Linked DNA regions of Homo sapiens: regions 1 and 2 are each linked to region 3. Evidence: promoter capture Hi-C in 16 types of primary human blood cells and fetal thymus (Javierre and others, 2016). All regions are on one chromosome and are shown on one strand. The core of a region is centred on a gene start or on the middle of the fragment in contact, and the rest is flanking DNA. Distances in the headings are between cores, read along the strand shown.

Evidence for each region. Contacts are between HindIII fragments. The CHiCAGO score rates a contact against its expected background, and 5 or more counts as called.
Region 1: a contact is called between a fragment that was not itself captured here and the fragment with the promoter of MKX in region 3, in 3 of 17 cell types (endothelial precursors, naive CD4 T cells and naive CD8 T cells). The highest score is 5.8, in endothelial precursors.
Region 2: a fragment that was not itself captured here is called in contact with the fragment with the promoter of MKX in region 3 in 1 of 17 cell types (naive CD8 T cells); the score reaches 5.8 in naive CD8 T cells.

Annotation. Positions count from the first base shown.
Region 1 is chr10:28,288,456-28,291,155 of GRCh38, reverse strand. All of the region lies in intron 1 of MPP7 (MAGUK p55 scaffold protein 7), which reads left to right. MIR8086 (microRNA 8086) reads left to right here and starts at 1,806; the gene lies at 1,806-1,898. The HindIII fragment of the contact is 3,927 bases long and covers 1-2,700 here.
Region 2 is chr10:28,364,594-28,367,293 of GRCh38, reverse strand. No RefSeq gene overlaps it. Among named protein-coding and RNA genes, the nearest start is that of MPP7-DT, 63 kb to the right of the region's middle. The HindIII fragment of the contact is 378 bases long and covers 1,158-1,535 here.
Region 3 is chr10:27,744,479-27,747,178 of GRCh38, reverse strand. MKX (mohawk homeobox) reads left to right here and starts at 1,360. Exons shown (of 7, transcript NM_173576.3): 1 at 1,360-1,472. It overlaps MKX-AS1 (MKX antisense RNA 1), which reads right to left and starts at 2,564. Exons shown (of 2, transcript NR_121652.1): 1 at 2,231-2,564. RefSeq lists an enhancer at 1,279-1,869. The HindIII fragment of the contact is 8,324 bases long and covers 302-2,700 here.

The sequences.
Region 1 (2,700 bases), core at 32-2,531, 540 kb before region 3:
TTAGTAGATGTTCACTAAATTTATATATGTAGCTGTTCATGATAATATTCTAATATCCTGAAATACTAGAAACATCCTAAACTGTGCAGCAGTAGGCATTTATTCTTCTTCTCCATGGACATTGTTAATATATGGTGGCAAAAGTTTACAAAATCGTGTCATCAGGATAATCCTAATTTTGTAACAAGAGAATAAGTTAATTTTCATGTACAACTCTATATTGTCCATGTACTGTTAATTCATATCTGTATGAGTGTGAATGTTCAAATAAAAACAGTTCAATTCATATCAGTAATGGGCATTAAGATTCTAGGTGAGTTACTTCTTTCACGTGTTAGTCTGTTTTCCTAAAATCCTTTTTGTTTAATAAGAAAACTGATTGGGGCCGGGCGTGGTGGCTCATGCCTGTAATCCCAGCACTTTGGGAGGCTGAGGTGGGTGGATCACCTGAGGTCAGGCGTTCGAGACCAGTCTGACCAATGTGATGAAACCCCATCTGTACTAAAAATACAAAAGTTAACTGGTTGTGGTGGCATGCGCCTGTAATCCCAGCTACTCGGGAGGCCGAGACAGGAGAATCGCTTGAACCTGGGAGGCAGAGGTTTCAGTGAGTCGAGATTGTGCCATTGCACTCCAGCCTGCGCAACAAAAGCGAATCTCTTATCTCAACAAAACAAAACAAAATCTGATTAAAAATGACTTTATAATAAGCTGGGATGGGGAGGTGGGGCAGTTGCAGATAAAGTAAGACTGGCCATAAATTGAAGGTAGGTAAGAAGTTCAAGAAGTTTCCTTGTAGTATTATACTCTTTCCTCCAGTTTAGTATATGCTGGAAATACTCTCTATGTTAAAAAAAAAAAAAAAAAAAGGAAAGTAAAAAGACTGTAATTCGTGAGTGGGGCCACTTAGTAAAGGATATAGGGCATCAATACAAGGCATACTTTTATTTTGTTATTGCTCCAAGAGAAACTAATAGAAGATCTTTATGTACTGTATGTATCAATAGTAGCGTAATAGCATTAGAAATCAATGGTTTGGCTGGGCTCAGTGGCACACGCCTGTAATCCCAACACCTTGGGAGGTCGAGGCAGATGGATGGCCTGAACTCAGGAGTTTGAGACCAACCTGGGCAACATAGTGAAACCCCATCTCTACAAAAAATACAAAAATTAGCTGGACGTGGTGGCACATGCCTATGGTCCCAGCTACTTGGGTGGCTAAGATGGGAGCATTGCTTGAGCCAGGGAGGCGGAGGTTGCAGTGAGCCGAGATTATACCACTGTACTCCAGCCTGGGTGACAGCATGAGACTCTGTCTCAAAGAGGAAAAAAATAAAATCAATGTTTCGGCCTTTTTGGGAAGAAGTAAATCATTATCTGTCATGTGGCTTACTGTAGTGACTTCTCTGCTCTTGCCCCTGCCCCTAAAACCTTTTCTCCATTTCTCCACCCAAAGCCCAGAGTGGGTTCGGGTGGATCCTGTCACTCATTTGCTCAGAACCTTGCCGTTTCACGCAGATTCAAGGGCAAAGTCTCCATAGTGGCCCACTCACCTTAGACACTGTATTTGTGAGCTCTTGGCCACACATCTCTTAAACACGCAAAAAAATATTGGAGAGCTGAGACTGCACTTCTTGCCCCAGTTCTTAAGATTTAAGTGACTTTTGTGTTAAGTCTGGTCCTGAAGAATTTACCAGTCTGTTAAAAAGGCAGAGATTTCTGTTGGTTGGGATGGCTGTTTTGATATTTCTTGAGTTAACCAGAGGAGGAAGCGCACGGGAAACAGTTCATCTCAGCTTCCTTAATCCACTAGTCTGCTAGTCTGGACTGATATGGTTAGCTTTTTTTTTTTTTTGAGATGGAGTCTGGCTCTGTTGCCCAGGCTGGAGTACAGTGGCATGGTCTTGGCTCACTGCAACCTCCGCCTCCTGGGTTCAAGCGAGTCTCCTGCCTCAGCCTCCTGAGTAGCTGAGACTACAAGTGTGTGTCACCACACCTGGCTAATTTTTTGTATTTTCAGTAGAGACGAGGTTTCACCATTTTGGCCAGGCTGGTCTCGAACTCCTGACCTCAAATGATCCGCCCACCTCGGCCTCCCAAAGTGCTGGGATTACAGGTGTGAGCCACCATGCCTGGCCTGGTTAGCTATTTTTGAGACCAGAATCTCAAGAAAGAGGTATGTGCTGAGCTAAGAAGGAAAAAGTGCTGCTGACTTCCCCCACCCGAGGTCTTCTAACCTCACACCCGAGCCTAATACAAAATATTCTGCTCATAAGGCCCTTTCTCAGGATGGCTGTGGCTGGTGGTTCTTGGTGCTCTAGGCCAGACATTGGGCTCTGCTGAGCTTCCAACTTTTAGCGTTTGTTCAAACAGGAACTCAAAGAATAAGGTAATTCCTGAAGGCTCACTTGAACAAGCACAGCCTTGACCTCAGCTCCATATCCTTGGAGCTGCAGTTTTCAGACTTGTTTCAGTACCGCTTCACGCTCTTAACAATTATTAAGGACCTCAAAGACCTTTGCTTTACATGAGTTATATCTATCAATGTTTACCATATTAGAAATATAAGTGGGAAATTTTAGAGTATTTATGAATTCAATAAAACATAATAACCTGGCTGGGTGTGGTGGCTCATTCCTGCAATCCCAGCACTTTGGGAGGCCGAGGTGGGACGATCACTTGAGGCCAGGAGTTCGAGAC
Region 2 (2,700 bases), core at 97-2,596, 620 kb before region 3:
GGGCTTTTTCTTCCTCTTTTTCCTGTAAACTAGAGGAAAATGGTTTTTGGCTGAAAGATAGCTTGGCAAGAAGCTTGACTCTTCAAAAGGAAGCCCCTGTAGAGAGCAGATAGGCTCTGACAGTGGGGGGCACAGGTCTGTGTCCATTTGTCACACGATTTTGAAACTGGCAGGGGTGCCCCTGCTGCTTATATCACAAGAGGGTTTCCACAAGGCACGTGTTCTCCAGTGAGGGTTCTCAGTAACTCATGAGCCATTTGCGACTCGGTACAAATTCCCAGGGGCCCAATCTCTCCTCTTTTGCCTGCTCCACCTAATTCTAGATTAATGTCATGGGTGGGTGAGAAGAAAAAGAAAATTATAAGACTTTCTATCTATTTTTATTTTTATTTTTTATGACACAGGGTCTTGCTCTGTCACCCAGGCTGGAGTGCAGTGGTGCAATTATGGCTTACTGCAGCCTCAACCTCCCAGGCTCCAGCTATCCTCCCACCTCAGCCTCCTGAGTAGCTGGAACCACAGGTGTGCACCACTACACCTGGTTAAGTTTTGTATTTTTTGTAGGGATGGGGTCTTGCTATGTTGCCCAGGCTGGTTTTGAACTCCTGAGCTCAAGCAATCCACCTGCCCAAGCCTCCCAAAGTGCTGGGATTACAGGTATGAACAGTCACGCCCAGCTTCTAGCTATTTTATTTTAGATTCAGGGGGTGCACGTGCATGTTTGTTACATGGGTGTGTTGCATCCTGGTGGGACTGGACTTCTAGCTTACCCATCACCCAAATAATGAACGTTGTACCCTTTAGCTTTTTAAATAGTAACAATGAAAGCAAATCTGAAAACCACTGGATTATACACCCCAGTCTATAAAGATAGAAGCAAATTATATGTAAACACTGCATACATGTTGGGGATCAGCAAACGATACCCCAAAATATGGTGCTTTGACATACTGAAATAAAGAAGCAGCCTCAAGTTCACTCTGACCTTCTCCCCACCTCCAACTCCTGTCTCTTCACCTTCTGTCTCTCCCAAATGCACAAGAAGAGAATGTTCTCTGAAGTTCCCTAATCTAGGTAGAAACTGGACCCGCCAAAAAGGAACACAATTGCCTTCAATATCCTCCCTGAAATTTCATTAACCTGAGAAGATTAAAGCTTGTATCACAGAGGAGACTGAAAGTGAAACACCACACCTGGAGCCCAGATGAACTTTGTCCCAAACTATCATCTGTTCTCTGATCCCATTCAATTTCCAAAGAGAATCATTTACTTACCATTGTCTGAGCATGGGGCTCATTCATCTCCCCTATAAATCATTCACTACGTCTAAAAATAGCCATATTTCCCTTTTCTCCCATTCCTCCACAAAGAAGGATATAAAAGCAACTGAGCCTCATTGGGTTACTGGGTAATCATCCTTCTGTGACTCCCCTGTGCTAATGCACATTACATACATTTGTTTGCTGTTTTCTTCTATTAACCTGGCTATTGTCCATTCATGTTCAGCACATCTTTCAGAGGGCGGAGGTGAAGCTTTTCCTTTACCCCTAAATCTGCATAAGCAGCTCACTTTTCAGTTTCCTTCATATGTTGTTTTCATCACTCTTTCTCCTTCTTCCTCCTTTTTTCACTTATCCTATTTTTCTCAACCTGTTTTATTTTTGTTTTTCTCCTCCAACTCTTTCCTATTCTGTCTTTCCTCTTCCTTATTATTTTTCCTTCTTTTCTCTGTGAGCCTCTCCTTCCTCTGTAATTTCTGTCTTCCACAGCAGGCAATAGGAGAGCTCTAGATTTCATGTGCCACAACCTGGACTGGAAAAAGATATGAAGCCAGGTCACGTGGTAGCAACAATTGAGTCTTTTAAAACATTTCCAGGGTCCCAAAGTAGTACTTAGGATAAAACCCCTTTATTGTCTCCATATTGTCTTCTTGCATTAGGATTTTTAAAAATTGCACTTTTATAATGTTTTTTTTTAAACATAACTTAAGGCTGGGCGCAGTGGCTCACGTCTGTAATCCCAGCACTTTGGGAGGCCGAGGCAGGCAGATCACCTGAGATCAGGAGTTCGAGACCAGCCTGGCCAACATAGTGAAACCCTGTCTCTACTAAAAATAAAAAAATTAGCAGGGCGTGGTGGTGTGCACCTGTAGTCCCAGCTACTCAGGGGGCTGAGGCTTGAGAACTGCTTGAGCCTGGGAGGCAGAGGTTACAGTGAGCTGAGATTGCACTACTGCATTCCAGCCTGGGCAACAGAGCAAAACTCTGTCTGTAAAAATATATGTATTTTATTTTATATATATATATATAAACTTAAGAATGTTTGACTTGTAAATATTTCAGTATTATTTTAAAATCAAGGCTAGGATGTGTGGGGGTTTCATACTTGTAAATGAGTTTAGGTTGTATTATACCTGTTGTGATTTTTTTTCATTAGTATCATTTTTTAAAAAATGTTTTTCAAAATAATTTGTGTAATAGATCATCATAGCACTTTCTGTTAGAAAAGTTTTCTTAATTATAATCATTAAGTTGGCTAACTTTTCTGAGGCAGTAATAATGGCTTTTAGGTGATAGGGTGGTGGTAGACTTTGTTTTTTTATTTTTATTTTTTTGAGATAGGGTCTCGCTCTGTTGCCTAGGCTGGAGTACAGTGGTGTGATGCTTATAGCTCACTACAGCCTCGAACTCCTGGGCTCAA
Region 3 (2,700 bases), core at 111-2,610:
TGCGCAAAAATGTAAACCGGCCTTCCTTTATGGTTTACATTGTACCCCTGCACAACGGTTTGCTATCGCGTAATTTGGGAGGTGACACATATGAAATTTGAGGGTGTGATTAGTCTTTAAAATAATAGTTTTGGTATATATTTTAAGCACTTCTAGCGACCCCCCCAACACACAAACACACACACACACACGCGCACACACACACACACACACGAAGAAGATGCTAAGGTGGGCCACTGCCCCGGCTCTGGCCAGCCGCATTTAGAGGGGAAAAGGACAAATGGCGCTATTTCTTTAAGCTTGGTGGGGGGAAATCTAAGTTTGTTCTTTAAAAAGGGCGAAAGTTCGCTAGGACCACAGGGCCTTCGGCGAGAGCGCAGGCAGCTTCGTGTTGGCACCTTGGGGATCTTCTGGGCTGCCAGAAGCTCTGAGCTTGCAGTTGCACCTAAACCGCCGCTTTCGCTACTTATATTTGCGGTAATGTTAGGAAGCAAAGTATCATCAATCAGAGAATCTGGTAGCCATTCTCTCTCTTTGCCCTGTGTCCCAGCTTGTGATTCTTCTAAGTTCCATCTCCTTTGCTGCGTGCAGATCCTTGGCTTTGGGCGCGCTTCCTCTTCTGCACTTGGGCCACCGCGGGTTGGCCACCTGGGCTGAACTCATCCCATCCTTGCTTTCCCCCATCCCTATACCCAGCGGCGAGGGCAGCCTCACCAGCCCTTGCCCCGGAGGTGAATGTGTGCCTGGCTTTGACTGAGACAACTAGGACCCCAGAAGCCCAGTGACATCAGAAAAGAGGCTCCTGGGCACTAGCACTTCCCGCAATACGCTCCAGGGCTGTAGGTGCAAAACGGAGCTCTAACTTCCCTCCAGCTAATCGAGAGGAAAATACAGGGCGCGTCACAGTGGCCTCTCCCGCCTAGCCACGCGCAGTGAAATTTCCGGCAATCGGGCCAGCTAAGACACGGGATTTGCACCGCAGCCTCTCAGCTTCTGGAGCCGGAGCCGAGCGCTCCCGGCAGCTTCTCCAATTTCTCTCCTAAAGTGCGAAGGGAAAAGCCCCGTCTGCTCCACGACTGCAAGGCCGGCGGATCTGGGAGCCGCGCCCGGCTCCGGAGGACTCGGCGGGCCCGGGGCTCCCCGGCAGCGGCTCCTCTGCTAGGGGTTAACAGCAGCCCCCGCGGCCGGGCGGGCGCGGACGCTTCCTCTCCACCCGCCCGGGAACGTGGATACCGCGCCCGCAGGATGTTCGCCGGCTGGGACCGGCAGTCAGGAAACATGAGAAGGCCTCGCTATTCCTGTTCCCGGGCGGCGCGCGCCGGGCTGGGTAAATAAAGCCGAGACGACGGCGGTGGCGGTGGTGAGCGCGCTGGAGCCCGCGTGGAGAACATGCGGCGGGGATGGGAGTGCGCCTAGTCTCGAGGCGGGAGAGCCAGCCGCCCTGCAGCCGGCCGTCGGCCCCGCAGCCACAGGTACAGCCCCCGCGTCGCCGAGTCTCAGCCGGCTGCGGCGGAACGCCAGGCTCGCTCTGGCCCCTGCGCCCTGGGCGCCGGTGCTCTCCCGCCCTTCCCCCAACTTCCCTCCAAGGTCTGGTGGAGAGGCGCTCGGGTAGCGGCCAAGGCTGGCCCAAGGGTCTGCGCGGAGCTTGGGAGCCCACCTGGCCGCGCCTCCTTTGCTTTAAAATTATTCGCCGGCGTTGGGGGAGGGGGACACTTCTGCAGGGAGTGACCTCCCCGGCCACAGTCTGGAGTGAATCGGGGTAAGTGATTTGAGAAGAGGCGCGGGTGGCCGCGCGCGGGAGTCCTGGGAGGGTCAGCAAGTGTGGTTCACACGCCCCCGGACCCCTTGCGACAGGACAGCGCTCGGACCTTTGCCATCGCTTGCCTCTGAGCCTGCTGCCTGCAGACCTACAGCGCGCCGGGTGTCTGTGTCTGCGATCTCTGCGTGGGCTTGGGGCTGCCGGGGAAGTGTCCGAGGTGGCTAACCTCGTGATGACTTCGCTAGGAAAAACACGTCGTCGCATCTAGGAGGACGCGCTGGGGTGGCTCGGAGAAGGCCGGGCCGGGGAAGGGTGTCTTGTACAAATAAAGCAGCATGAACACACATCCCTAAGGGCATGATTTTAAAAGAAAACACCAACGCGAGTCTTGACTGTAGAACAGGGGCTGCAAGCACGAAAATTCTCTTTGACACTTATCACCGAGGCTATGTGCACACCCCAGGCACGTACCTGTCTGCGCGGGAGGACGCAGTCCTAGGGGACACACGACATCCAGCAGAGGTCTGACTTCACTTCCCTACGAACACAGACCGTAGCCGTCGTTTGATCGCGGTGGTCACGCGTGGTCCTAAATGTCACGCGTGGCCTCTGCTGCGGTGGCCGAAGGGCGGGGCGGGGGCGTTGGCGAGTGTGGGCGCTTGGCGAGGCAAAGGGTGTGTGTGTGTGTGTGTGTGTGTGTGTGTGTGTATGCGCGCGCGCGTGTGTTAGTGGAGTAGCAGCCCATGCCGCGGCTGGACGGGCAAAGGGGGCGCTGGCAGCGAAGCTGAGGCCGCTCGGAGGAAACGGGAGCTGTCCCGAGGCGCGAGGCGAGGAGATGGGGCGGGCGAAGTCCGCCGCGCGCCTTGGGGCTGTAACTCTGCGGCTCCGCGGCCGCGCGGACTTGCTCCTGACGCCGGTGCGCGGCAGGCAGAGGCTCAGGG